Linked DNA regions of Homo sapiens: regions 1 and 2 are each linked to region 3. Evidence: promoter capture Hi-C in human tissues and cell types (Jung and others, 2019). All regions are on one chromosome and are shown on one strand. Each heading gives the region's core, a stretch centred on a gene start or on the middle of the fragment in contact. The rest is flanking DNA. Distances are from core to core; before and after follow the strand shown.

Region 1 (4,365 bases), core at 962-3,461, 310 kb before region 3:
GCACTCCAGCCAGGGTGACAGAGGGAGACTCCAGCTCAAATAATAAATAAATAAATAAATATTAAATAAAAATATTAAAAATTCCTAAGAATTGCATAATTCTAAAAAAAGTTTAAAAATCTCATAAAGTACAAAGTCCATATAGCTTGACTAAGAATGTGTTTAAATATCTTTAAAATAAAAAGGAAGTAGAAAATCCAAACAAGTAATCATCCTGGGTAGGAGTTGTTGACATCTGACATTTGAATTAAAAATTAATGAAAATATCGTGACTCCTGGTATAAAGGGCTACATAAGCTTTGAGACCAACTTTGTTACAAGTTTGAGGCTCATGATCCAGTATTTCTAAAAAGGAGCTCTTTTGGCTCAATTAGTATATAAGAAGATCTCTTACACAATTAAAATCTTTGGCCCTAAGATATCTCAGTTAACTTTAATGTATTGAGTTTCCATAATCTTATATATATCAACTCCCAAATATTTTAGAATTATGTAACCTCAGTAAAATAAGATTTTAACTGTCTTTTTTAGCAAATAGAAATCTTTTAACTCCAGAAAGTGTTAGAATTAAATGCAAAATGGTTTAAAAATTAAAACCAAATCTGTGCATAATGGATAACTTAGTATGTTTGTAATATGTAAAAGAATGTGGTCTATTAGTGTGATCACCCTGTTTCTATCTTTTGTACTCTAGATTGATGAATTAGCTTACATTCTTCATTTTAATTTGGAACCTTAACAAACGTATCCATGGACTTAGAACATGTAAAAGAACTTTAGTTTATATGTATATGTGTGTGTGTGTGTGTGTGTGTGTGTAAAATAGAATTATAGGAATTATTTTATACTAGGAAATATTTTTGCTATGACTTTACTTTTAAAGCTACAGTAATAAGACTGACAGCTGATTTCTCAACCAATACGGTGGGAACCAAAAAGCAATGGAATTGGTATACCTAATGTTTTGAAAGAAAACAGCTACTAATGTAGAATTTTGTATGTAGCAAAAATATTCTCCAACAGTGAATCAGAAATAAAAACATCTTTAGATTTAGAAAATCCTGACAGAATTCATGGTCATTTAATATTAAAAAAGGAAATACTAATCGAGGCACTGTGGTGTGCACCTGCAGTCCCAGCTACTCAGAAATTTGAGGGAGGAGGATCACTTGAGCCCAGGAGTTTGAGTCCAGCTTGGGCAACATAGAAAGACCCTGACTCTACCAAAAAAAGAGAAAGGAATACTGAAAGGATTTTTTTGATTCCAGGTAAATGCACAGTAAAACAGGAAGAAATAATGAGCATTAAAAGAGGCAAATGTGTGTGTAAATTTTAACATATCATCAACTGTATCAAATGATAATGTAGCATTGAGACTTAAAATATAAAATCAGAATGCAAAATGTTATCACAAAAGTCAGGTAGGATAGGCAGGGCATGGTGGCTTATGCCTGTAATCCCAGCTCTTTGGGAGGCTGAGGCAGGCAGATCACTTGAGGTCAAGAGTTCGAGACCAAACTGGCCAACATGGTGAAACCCTGTCTCTGCCAAAAATACAAAAATTAGCCAGGTGTGGTGGCACATGCCTGTAATCCCAGCTACTCAGGAAGCTGAGGCAGGAGAATCACCTGAACCTGGGAGGCAAAGGTTGCAATGAGCTGAGATCATGCCACTACACTCTAGCCTTGGTGACAGAGCGAGACTTAGTCTCAAAATATATATATATGTATAAAGGCAGGTAAGATAAACAGCTTTAACTTGTTGTAAGCTCTTTACATTCTCCTGGAAATGATAAAAAAAATTACTGGTATATCTAATAAGTGAAGGATGTGTATGATAATATATAGTAACCACTAAAAGAATAATAGAGAAATGTATAACAAAGAAAAGCCAATAGAAGGAGATAACAAGGGATTGATAAAAATAATTGATTAATCCAAAGAAGGCATAAAGAGAAAAACAGAACAAAGAACAATTTTCTCCTTTGTATAATTTTCAGTAAATTTTATATTTCTACTAATTTTGCCTTCTTTATTCCATTACAATAATCTACTACCTATTGTTTAATCTGAATCATAGCTATGAACACCCATTGTTTCCCACTTTTCCATATTTACTCTTTATAAAAACTTCAGAAAACAGGTACTATTGTGTATATTTTACTAACAGAAACAAGCAGTTGAAGAACTTGCCCAAGAAATCACAAATAACAAAAGGCTTTATCTTATAATATAGCCTCACTCTGCTGTGTCCCCACAGAGGCTGAGATGAAGGGGACAGTGGACAGGAGACATTTCCATGGACAGAGCCCTTCAGGCTGTTCTAACTTGTGATCAATTTTTCACTAGATATTTCACTTCAGTGTATGAAAGGAGTCCCATGCTAGGTTCTAGAAATATCAAAACTATTTAACCTGGCTAGCCACTCTAGCTGGAAGCAGAAGAATGAGGTTCATTTTTTTGTCTTTAAATTTTTTGCTTTGAGATAATTGTAGCTTCATGCACTTCTAAGAAATGATACAGAGGGATTTTGTGTACCCCTTACACAGTTACCCCCAATAGCAACCTATTACAAAACTATAATACAACATCAGCACCAGGATATTGACACAGATACAGTCAAGATGTAGGATATTTCCATCTCAACTGGGACCCCTCACCATGTCCTTCTGTAGTCACTGCTTCCCTACTCCCACTACCTCCCTACTCCCACAGCCTCCCTACTCCCACTGCTGCCTACTCCCACTGCCTCCCTACTCCCACTGCTGCCTACTCCCACTGCCTCCCTACTCCCACTACCTCCCTACTCCCACTGCCTCCCTACTCCCACTGCCTCCCTACTCCCACTGCTGCCTACTCCCACTGTCTCCCTACTCCCACTACCTCCCTACTCCCACTGCCTCCCTACTCCCACTGCTGCCTACTCCCACTGCCTCCCTACTCCCACTGCTGCCTACTCCCACTGCCTCCCTACTCCCACTGCTGTCTACTCCCACTGCCTCCCTACTCCCACTGCTGCCTACTCCCACTGCCTCCCTACTCCCACTGCCTCCCTACTCCCATTGCTGCCTACTCCCACTGCCTCCCTACTCCCACTGCTGCCTACTCCCACTGCCTCCCTACTCCCACTACCTCCCTACTCCCACTGCCTCCCTACTCCCACTGCTGCCTTACTCCCACTGCCTCCCTACTCCCACTGCCTCCCTACTCCCACTGCTGCCTTACTCCCCGACTGCCTCCCTACTCCCACTGCCTCCCTACTCCCACTGCTGCCTTACTCCCACGTGCCTCCCTACTCCCACTGCTGCCTACTCCCGCTGCTGCCTACTCCCGCTGCTGCCTACTCCCACTGCTGCCTACTCCCACTGCCTCCCTACTCCCACTGCTGCCTACTCCCACTGCCTCCCTACTCCCACTGCCTCCCTACTCCCACTGCTGCCTACTCCCACTGCCTCCCTACTCCCACTGCCTCCCTACTCCCACTGCTGCCTACTCCCACTGCCTCCCTACTCCCACTGCCTCCCTACTCCCACTGCTGCCTACTCCCACTGCCTCCCTACTCCCACTGCTGCCTTACTCCCACTGCCTCCCTACTTCCACTGCCTCCCTACTCCCACTGCTGCCTTACTCCCCGTGCCTCCCTACTCCCACTGCCTCCCTACTCCCACTGCTGCCTACTCCCGCTGCTGCCTACTCCCGCTGCTGCCTACTCCCACTGCTGCCTACTCCCACTGCCTCCCTACTCCCACTGCTGCCTACTCCCACTGCCTCCCTACTCCCACTGCCTCCCTACTCCCACTGCTGCCTACTCCCACTGCCTCCCTACTCCCACTGCCTCCCTACTCCCACTGCTGCCTACTCCCACTGCCTCCCTACTCCCACTGCCTCCCTACTCCCACTGCTGCCTACTCCCACTGCCTCCCTACTCCCACTACCTCCCTACTTCCACTGCTGCCTACTCCCACTACCTCCCTACTCCCACTGCTGCCTACTCCCACTGTCTGCCTACTCCCACTGCCTCCCTACTCCCACTGCCTCCCTACTCCCACTACCTCCCTACTCCCACTGCCTCCCTACTCCCACTGCCTCCCTACTCCCACTGCCTCCCTACTCCCACTGCCTCCCTACTCCCACTGCCTCCCTACTCCCACTGCCTCCCTACTCCCACTGCCTCCCTACTCCCACTACCTCCCTACTCCCACTGCCTCCCTACTCCCACTGTCTCCCTACTCCCACTGCTGCCTTACTCCCACTGCCTCCCTACTCCCACTGCCTCCCTACTCCCACTGCTGCCTACTCCCACTGCCTCCCTACTCCCACTGCCTCCCTACTCCCACTGCTGCCTACTCCCACTGCCTCCCTACTC
Region 2 (4,710 bases), core at 1,540-4,039, 320 kb before region 3:
GAGACCCATCCAAATATGTGCCAAACTGAGCTTAAGTTATTCATAATGCAGCTATCACCTGGGTGCTGTGTTGCTTGCTATCTTTATGAAACAAATAGGAAAAGGATTGGAATTCAAGGAAAGAACCAGGTTCTGTTTTCCATATATCATAAATGAAACAGTACTTCTAACAAAACCAGGTCTATTCTGACAGTTAACACTCATGTCCCACAAGCTGTGTGTCATTTAATAAATAAACTGCTGTTCTTTGTAATGAAGCCAAAATAATGGTGAGAAGCACAGTTATAGCCCCAGAAATAAGGCAAGGAAATGTTAATTACAAAGCAGTTTACATGGTAACAGCTTGATAAATGATGCTGAGAAAAATGACCTTCTTGCTCATTCTCCTTTGTCTCTGCTAAAGAAGAGAGACTTAGAGATTTGAAATGGCAACCTGACGTCTCATTTTTGGTGTCAGGTTGCCCTTTATAAGTTTCTCCTTATAGACCATCGTGTTGGTGGTGGGAACAACACAGTAGCTGGAGACAAGAAAAGAGGACACCTAGAGGAAGAGCTATTCCGAGTCCCTTCCCGCCTGCTTCTTCCCCATGCCACCCTCTCCCAGGGATGGCAAGGTCAGGACTCCTCCATTCCTGGGGTGCTTTAATACTTAGAGGACTGAGTCAATAAGGGGCGTGGCAGTCCTACATGGACAAAGTGTGGCATGTCAGCTCTAGGACTGGGGCGTGGTCACTGGGGTGTCCCAAGGTTATCATTCCCTGTGCTGAAGCTTCCATGGAACAAGGAGGCTCTCAAGAATGCTCTGCTCTTCTTACTGGAAGCTCTGAGGGGGTGTCGGCTGCCATTTGCCCTCCTTTGGAGTTTGTATTTCCAGATGTCTGAGCTACTTGCTGCATGGCAGCCCACATCCACGTTTCTCCTCTGAGGCCACAGGTTTTAGATGAGACAATTCTGTCTGTCCCAGACTCCAGGACTGGAAGGTGGTACCTAGAGGAAGCCAGTCAGCACTTTCCAACCCTGGCATCAGTGATTGGCTCAGAGGTGGACATGTGACAAGAACAGGCTCATCAGGACCAATGAGATTCAATTCCTGAGCCTGTTTTATTAACTGGGCAGAAGACTGCCTCTCCAATGGATATATGGCCTGAGGTTTGAGCAGCCATCTTTCAATATCTTTTTAAAATTCCTAATATTGATAACTTCTACTTCTGTTTTGTTCTAATCAGTATGGCAAATGTACTGACTATTTCAAAGAACAAGCTTTTGGTTTCATTGATTTTCTCTATCATATTTCTTTTCTCCATTTCATTGATTTCTGCTGTTCATGCTATGATTTCTTTTTTTCTGCTCACTTTGGGTTTAATTGGCTCTTACTTCTCTAGTTTCTTAAAGTGTAAGCTTAAATCATTCATAAGAGAACTTTCTTCTTTCCTAATATGGGCATTTAATGCTATAGATTTCCCCTCTAAGCACGATTTTAGCTGTATTGTACAAATGTTGATATGGATTTCATTTTCATTCATTTCAAAGTATTCTCTAATTTTTCTCATGACTGCCTCTTTGATCCATGGATTATTTAGAAGTGTATTATTTAATTTCCATGGCTTAGTTGGTTTTCCAGTTATAGGTCTATTTTTGATTTCTAGTTTGCTTCTGCTAAGCTCTGTGACTCATACAGGGGAGAAGGTCCCAGGTGTGCCTTATGCCCTTATCTCTGAGGCCACTGTTCCTTTCCACCAGGTGCACCATGAGGGTGGTTTTCTCCATCTCTGGGTCTCTTCTGATCTTTCTGGTGAGCATGCAGTGAGGCGTGTGGAGAAGAGCCTGCTAGTGGGTGTGAATTCCTCTTGTGTCTGCCATGCTTAGGGCTTCTCTGCACCCACTCTGGCCATCCCTTGGCCTTTAGCACTTTGTCAAACACTTTAGCTTAATCCTTTTTACTTGGCTTGTTTGGCGTCCGTTTGCTTCTGCCCGAGGTAAGCAAGGATTTACATCCTGTCTCAGGAGCTCTTTTCCTTTGATTTTGTTTTGTTTTTTAACTGAGGTAAAATTCACATAACATAAAATTAACCATTTTAAAGTGTACAAGCCGGGCGCGGTGGCTCACGCCTGTAATCCCAGCACTTTGGGAGGCTGATGTGGGGGATCACCTGAGGTTAGGAGTTCGAGACCAGCCTAGCCAACATGATGTAGAAACCCCATCTCTACTAAAAATACAAAAATTCTCCCAGTGTGGGGACTGGTGCCTGTAATCCCAGCTGCTCAGGAGGCAGAGGTAGGAGAATTGCTTGAACCTGAGAGGTGGAGGGTGCAGTGAGCCGAGATTGTGCTATTGCACTCCAGCCTGGGCAATAGCAAGACTCCATCTCAGAAAAGAAGAAAAGAAAAGAAAAGAAATAAAGTGTGCAATTCAGTGGCATCTAGTACCTTCACAGTGAGTGCAGCCATGACCTCTATCTAGTTGCAAACATTTTCATCATCCCCCAAGGAGACCCTGTACTCAGCAAGCAGGCACTCTCCACTCCCCTTTACCCAGCCTCTGGCAAACAGTAATCTGCTTTCTGTTCCTAGGGATTTCTCGATTCTGAGTATTTCATATAAATAGAATTATGGAATATGTGACCTTAGTGTCTGGATTATTCCTCAGAGTTTGGGTTAGTTTGGTGGTTCTGCAACCTCAGCTTTCTGATAGGGTTGAAAAAAGTGGTGCTTCTTGCAGATGACCTGGCATGTTGTTACTGCTGTTGTTAGAATGCCCTTTCCATCTTTCTGCATCCTAAGCAGAAGCTGGAAGCCCAACAAATTCCCTCTTGCAATTTTCCCCAGATCCACATCTTCTTCCTGAGTTGCCAGATTTGCTATTGTTATGTAAAGCAATTTCTTAATTAAGTCTTCAGCTCTTTGGTGTTTTGTTGTTGTGAGGGAGAAGTTATATGCTCTTATATAGAGGATATTTCTCTATTTTTGCAAAATCACAGTCAAAGAAGTGTCTGATAGGTTGTCCTACATACCTGAAGGTGTATAAAGATCAATGTAATGGATTCCACATAGATTTTAGTGTCCAAATATGTTTCTTTTCAGAAACCATGTTGGCTTTGCCTTATCACATAATGAGAAATGTAAAACTCATCATATTTTTCTATTTCCTTGGTTGTCAAGATGCTAAATTAACTTTCAATTGGATTAACTGATTGTATATTTCTGGAATATTTATATCTCTTTACCTTCTAAAAAATTTCTGATTTTTAATTTTTATTTTTTGAAAACATAGTTATGAAACAAAATGTGTGTAGTATGATATCAAATATTTGCATTTAAATATCTATATAGGTAAATTACAAAAAAAATTTTAATGAAATTATATAAAGTTGTCATGGACCTAATTCTGTATCAATACATGAAAAACTAACTCTTTTGTAAATTTCCTCAAGAAATCTGTGATAGATTACTCTCTCTCTCTCTCCATATATATATATATATATATATATATATATATATACATACACACAGTAAAATAGATATGCATGTCCAATACATGCACAGGAGGGCAATTAAAATATCAACTATTTATAAAAACAATCTGTAAGGAAGTATGAAAATGATAGGGAGGAATGCTAAAGGGTTATTTCCTTTATTATTGTTTAAACTTCTGTATTGTTTGAACTAGCAATCACAGATTACTGATATGGACAGGAGACAGGGAAATACTGAGTAGAAGAGGGTGGTTCCCTAGGAAAGGCCTCACTGTCAATTTGTGGCCCTAAATGGGAATAGGCATTTCTGTTTTCACACCCAAAAAGTTGCCTTTTGGCCTGCAATGCCCCCCTGTCCTGTACCCATATAAACCCTGAGCCCCAGGCTCCAAGAGCAGATGAGGAGACAAGAAAACAAGCAGATGAATGGCAGAATGGCATGGCAGAGAAAGAGAGAAGAAAAGGAATGTCTGAACGCTGAGAGGAGTTCAGCTGGGGGCGGTCAGAGAGGAGTTTGGCTGCTGGGTGGCCAAACTCCAGGGGAAGATCACCTTCCCACTCCATCCCCCTCCCAGCTCCCCATTCATCCCACTGAAAGCTACTCAGTAAAACTCTGCATTCATCCTTCAAGTCCACGTGTGAGCTGATTCTTCCAGGACCCTGGACAAGAGCTCAGGATACAGAAAGCTGTCACACTGGTCCTCTGCCCTTGCAGAAAGGCAGAGAGGGCACTGAGCTGGTTAACTCTTAAGTCATCTGTGGGCCACGTAACTAAAAGAGCATTGTAACACTGGGGTTGCAGGCACCCACCCTTAGACACTACCATAGGGCCAGAGCTGAAAGCGCTTGCCCTGGTTCCTGCACCTGCCCGTCTGTGTGATACCCCTCCTGTCAGGGGTTTGAGCATTGGTAGCGACTGAACAGGTGAGCCACACCCCTGTGGCACATTCTGCAAGGGGGACCAGGGAGCTATCCTGTTTTTTCACTTTTACTGTTGTGAAAGGAAGAAAATATGCTATAAAGAATAAATGAAATAATACACATATATAGTAAATGCAACCAAACACATAGCTAGCTCAAAGTGCTCAGAATCATGACACTGAATCAAACAGCAGCCACTAAAAATCCTCATCCTATGCTCTTGCAGAATGCTTTTTCCGAGGGAGGCTTTCTATCACCTAAAGACATCTGAGATTCACAAAATAATGTCTTGTCACAGTACTGAGGCAGAGGCCCG
Region 3 (4,730 bases), core at 461-2,960:
GTAGCTAAAACTTACTGAAAGCTACTGTGTGCCAGGCAGTCTGCTGAGCACTTTACATGCTGCCTTTCATTTTTACACTCATTTAGGAAACTGAGTCACAGAGAGGCGAGATAACTTGCCAGAGATTCAAGCACACTCCAGACACATCCCTACACCAATCAGACCTCCTAGCCACCCAGAAACTCTCCTCTGCTCGGAGGCTTCTCTGCTTCCTCCACCTGCCCCTTCGCCTCACTGCCTCCTTTCAAAATCTGCGGCATGTATTTTAGGGATACTCGTATCCATTTTCAGGAATTCCATGATCTACACACAGATGACACCAAAATCGGAACAGCAATGTCCACCCTTCTCCCGAGCCCTAGGTCGGTGCCTCTGTCCACCTGTGTCTCCTGAAACTTCAACACAGACTTCAAATGGAGTGGCAGAAAACCAGATTCCTTAGGGAAAGGAAGGTCTCCCAGACGGCAGGAGCGGCAGGCCTTAGGGGCAGCCGCAGGGGCTCGGGAGTCTGAACATACCCGGTTTGAATTCAGACTCTGGCACGCCCCATGCGATCATAACATAGTGCTGCACGTCTCAAGCCACCTATAAAAACGGGGACAATAACAATATCTGCCTCGGGGTTAATGGTGAGGACTGACTGTGTGTGTCTCGCTCAGGACCAGGAGCAACAAATGTTGGCTTCTTCCCCGGCAAAGACCCGCGCTTTCTCCTGGGCTCCGGGTTCCCGGGGTGGGGGTGGGCGCAGTCCCGAGGGCCCCAGGCAGTGGCGCAGTGGTTAGACCCCAGCCTCTGGAGTCGGCCTCGGTTCAGATTCTGGTTCTACCCTTCTCCTCTGTGGCGAACCAACCCTCCGAGCTCTAGTTTACTCGTGTGAAATGGACTAGCCAAAATTGGGATTTTTTTTTTTTTTTAGGATTAGATGTGTCGGTCCATAGACGTTGCTGGCCACATAGTTAAGTGGTGCGTTCACTCACTGGGCATTGATGGAGCGCCTACTACGTGCCAGGCCTGTTTTACGCGCCGGGGGCCCAGAGGCGCCCAGGTCAGACAAAGTGTAAACGATTCCGACCAGAGCCCTTCAATCTGCATTCCGCTTCGCAGGAAACTCTCCTCCTTTTATGATTTTCAGCCGGACTGCCTTCCCTGTTGTTAGTTTGTAACTTTCGCTCCGGCCCCCGCAGCCTCGCGCCTGCCTTCCCTCCACTGTCCTCAGCCAAGGTGTAGTAAAGCGTCTCCGAACGCGGCGCGACCCTCGCCCACGCCCGCTCGCGGGGGGACCGCACCGCCCCAGGGGTCCTCGCTAGGGGTTCCCGGAGAAGGGGTGGGAGATGGGGGTGCGGGGGGGCACAGGAGCGCGGGCCAGCACCCAGACCTGCTCGGTACCGGGGACCCAGACCCGAGGATGCCGGGCGGCCAAGGCCCCGCTACCCTGGCCGGCTCCGGGCGGAGGAAGAAGAGGAGGCGCCCAGACTGGATACCCGCCTGGACCCGGAGCCGCGGCACCACCCCCAGCCCGCCCCACGCTCGCCAGCCTCAGACGGCCGCGCCCCGCCCCGCCCCTCTCCCGAAGCCCCGCCCCGGCGCGGGACCACCCCCTCCGCGGCCTCAGCTCCGGTCCTGGCCCCGCCCCCCGCGCCCCCGCCCCCGCCCCCGCCCCCGCCCCCGCCCAGGCGCGGGACCACCCTCCGCCCGCCGAGGCGGGGGCCCAGCGCGCCCGGCACTCTCGGCGGTCCGGGCCCCTCGCCACTACCGCCGCCGCCGCCGCCGTGAGTCCCGCGGAGCCGCGCGCGCCCCCGGCTGGGCCGAGCCGCTGGCCGACGAGCGGAGCCTCAGGAGCCGGCGGGGACGCCATGCGAGCCAGGTAGGCAGGCGGCGGCGGGGAGCGCCTCGGGCGGCAGGGCCCTGGGGGCCGGCGGGGGCGCGGGGTCGTGCTCGGGGGCTTTGCACTCCCTTGCGGGCGCAGATCGTGCCGCGGGCGCCGATCGTGCCACCGCCGCCTGAGTTCGGGGCTGCGCGGGTGCCTGGGCGTGGGGCGGCTTCGGGGAAGCCTCGCGCGCCCCTCGCCGCTCCCCCGGGCGCTCGGGTCTCCCTGGTGCTGGTGGGCAGGGACCCGGCCCGGGGTTCCGGGCGCCGAGCCGCAGCCCTCCGCGTGCGCTCGGGCCGCCCCCCAACCCCGGCTCTGGCCACTTCCCGGCGGGCGGCCCTGCGGGGTGGCCTCCCTGGGCAACCGGACGCGTCCTCGGGCGCAAATCGGGGGGCGCGCTCGGCTCACGGGGGCCGTGGGGGCCACGGGAGGGCGTGGAGGGGTCGGGGCGCCCCCCTCGAGCGGCGCTGGGGAGGAGGGAAGGACGCGCGGTCTCCGGTTAAACTTGTTGGTGACAATGCATATTTCAACTTCTTCGGAGATCCCTCCTGTGAGGATGAAATTGAAAACTCCGGTTTCTGGCTTGGCGATCGGGTGACCGAGCAGCCGCGAGGTGACAGCGCCGGCGGCCCGCGGGCGGGGACCGGCTGGGATAGAGGCGCGTTGTTCTCTGAGCGATGTTTACCGAGAAGCCCGCTCCGCGGCACGGGCGGGTGTCAGTTGGGACCCCAACCCTGGGTCCCGCGGCTCCTAGCCCGGGGCCTGCGGTGTAGACGGGGGTTGGGGACAGGCCCAGCTGGCCCTGACCGGGTGTCGGGCGCCCAGAGATGCCGCGCGGGAGGAGCCGCGGGAGAGCCGCCGGACTCAGCGAGCAGAGGGTCGTGGAGCCTGATGGATCGATGAGATCTGAAAAAGAACACTGTGCGAGATTGTATTCCTGCTTATTCTTTCCAAGTTAGTAGGCAGATTGGAACTATAGAATTTATCCGTGATAATAATAAAGTTCGCATAACTTTTGTTCTGATTACAGAAACAATGTATGCTCAGGACAGAAAGCTAGAGATAAAGAGAAATATAAACAGCAAACAGGAAACCATCCCCAATCCCACATTTTTTACCAGCCTTGTCACAGCCTGGCAGATTTGAACATTAAGTTAGAACTGGAGCCATTCTTGCCTAAACCAGAGAATCCCTGAATGCAGCCGCCCCTTCTCACCCTTGTGACCGTCTCTGAGCTCCAAAGTTTGGGTTTTTTCCTTGCTCCCTACCCGGGCAGAATCTCTGCTGGCCACGAGTCCCCTTCCCAGTGGGCTGGGGGCTTTCCTTGAGATCCGTGGCCCAGATGAAATGATGGGAGAGGCCTGGATCCTCACCGCCCTCTGTGGTTTTGGTTCCTTGCCTTGTAAAAATGAAGGTAATGATTCTCAATCTGCTTCTCAAGCCACCATAAAAATTAATGGGTGGTTTGCAGAGCGTTTTGACATCCGTGGATGGACAGCGGCTGTACTTTAAGGCGCTGGGGAACATTCTACTGTTCCTCATTGCAGTGGTCATGCAGTGTAATAGGCTGCCTCTCACCTGGCCGTCCTGCCCAGGAAACAGACTCCAGGAATGTCCAGTGGAGCCCTGAGGACAATATTCCTGGTTCCTTGCTCAGTGCCCTCGGGACTCGGCCAAATCCCTCAGAGTGGGAAGCTTGGGAAGAGGCAGCGCTCTCCAATCCCCCTCCTCCACCTCTGCTTTCTGCTTGTAGGCGGATTTCTTAAAGTAAGGGGGCAGTGATATTTAGGCGGGACCCCAGATTGCCCACTGCCTGATGTTTGTGGGTCTGTGGAATGCCCGGGCCGTGCTTATCCAAAAGAACAGTTAGTTCTGGGAGGACGCATAAACTGAACAAACCTGGCTTCCTAGAGATTTGTATGGCTCACTTGTTTACTAAATGAACAATGACCGGCTGCGGAGAAGCCCAGGACACTTCTGTGAGCTTTATTATTATTTTTTTCCTGTTGTCCCAAGACTACATTTTAGTGATCTTATAAAACAATAAATAAGAACCCATGCCATTTGTTAATTCTGGGTACCAAAGGCCCAGGTGGGGAGAGGTACTTCACAGCATGCCTTTTGTCCCCAAGCACCCATGCCACCCCCACAACAACAAAGTAATCAGGGTAGAAGATCCTCTTTCTGTAACCGTCTGTCGTTTGATAGTTTCATTTTTTAAATTGTCCTTTCCACCAGCACGTGGATCTGATCAGGGTCTGTCTAGTTGCAGATCACAGCTCAAGAGGGGGTTTTGGAAAGACCCAGAAAGTGGGCTGAAAAAAATGCTGATAAAGTATCCTTCACCGGGTGCCTTGTCTGTTCATGTATTGTGCTCTTACTTTTCTCTGTGGAGGGAGGACCTTCCTGGCTTTTCTCCCTTGCTCTTGTTTGCTAATCCGGCAGCCTGGAATTATTTCCCTCTGGGCTGCTTGAATAGACTTTCTTCTTATTCTAATGCTGGATTCTAGTCTGATCATAAGATATGCGAATGGTGAATGTGGTTTACGCCCTTGAATCCTGGGAGGTGTTCCTGGTTTTAAATCCTGGGATCCTGGCCAGTTAAGAGCCCCTGGCTCCCCTGAAATTGCGTGGGAGGTGTGTGTGCTTTCTTTTCCTGGGGAGCTTCTTACAGAGCCCTTGACCCAAACAAGGTTGAGAGCTCCAGAGTGCGGCCCTGGCAGACCTCGTCCCTGGACCCTGGCTCCAGGCAGACCTCCCAGTTCCAGCCTCGTTTCAGGTACCAGCCTTGTTTTGACCGAGTAGGAGCTGCTGTTTACAACTGGCCAGCCATGTGGATTTCCCTTAGCTTTATTATTTTCAA

The links. Contacts are between HindIII fragments. The study calls those that stand out against the background at their distance.
Region 1: a contact is called between a fragment that was not itself captured here and the fragment with the promoter of SH3BP4 in region 3, in 1 of the 25 tissues and cell types used here (IMR-90 fibroblasts).
Region 2: a fragment that was not itself captured here is called in contact with the fragment with the promoter of SH3BP4 in region 3 in 2 of the 25 tissues and cell types used here (IMR-90 fibroblasts and mesenchymal stem cells).

Annotation. Positions count from the first base shown.
Region 1 is chr2:234,642,704-234,647,068 of GRCh38, forward strand. No RefSeq gene overlaps it. Among named protein-coding and RNA genes, the nearest start is that of LINC01173, 38 kb to the right of the region's middle. The HindIII fragment of the contact is 9,291 bases long and covers 1-4,365 here.
Region 2 is chr2:234,625,030-234,629,739 of GRCh38, forward strand. All of the region lies in intron 1 of LOC105373936 (a long non-coding RNA gene), which reads right to left. Among named protein-coding and RNA genes, the nearest start is that of LINC01173, 55 kb to the right of the region's middle. The HindIII fragment of the contact is 3,551 bases long and covers 1,015-4,565 here.
Region 3 is chr2:234,950,307-234,955,036 of GRCh38, forward strand. SH3BP4 (SH3 domain binding protein 4) reads left to right here and starts at 1,711. Exons shown (of 6, transcript NM_014521.3): 1 at 1,711-1,864. It overlaps LOC105373938 (a long non-coding RNA gene), which reads left to right. Exons shown (of 7, transcript XR_007088132.1): 6 at 292-1,045; 7 at 1,133-1,493. RefSeq lists an enhancer at 2,164-2,813. The HindIII fragment of the contact is 19,834 bases long and covers 1-4,730 here.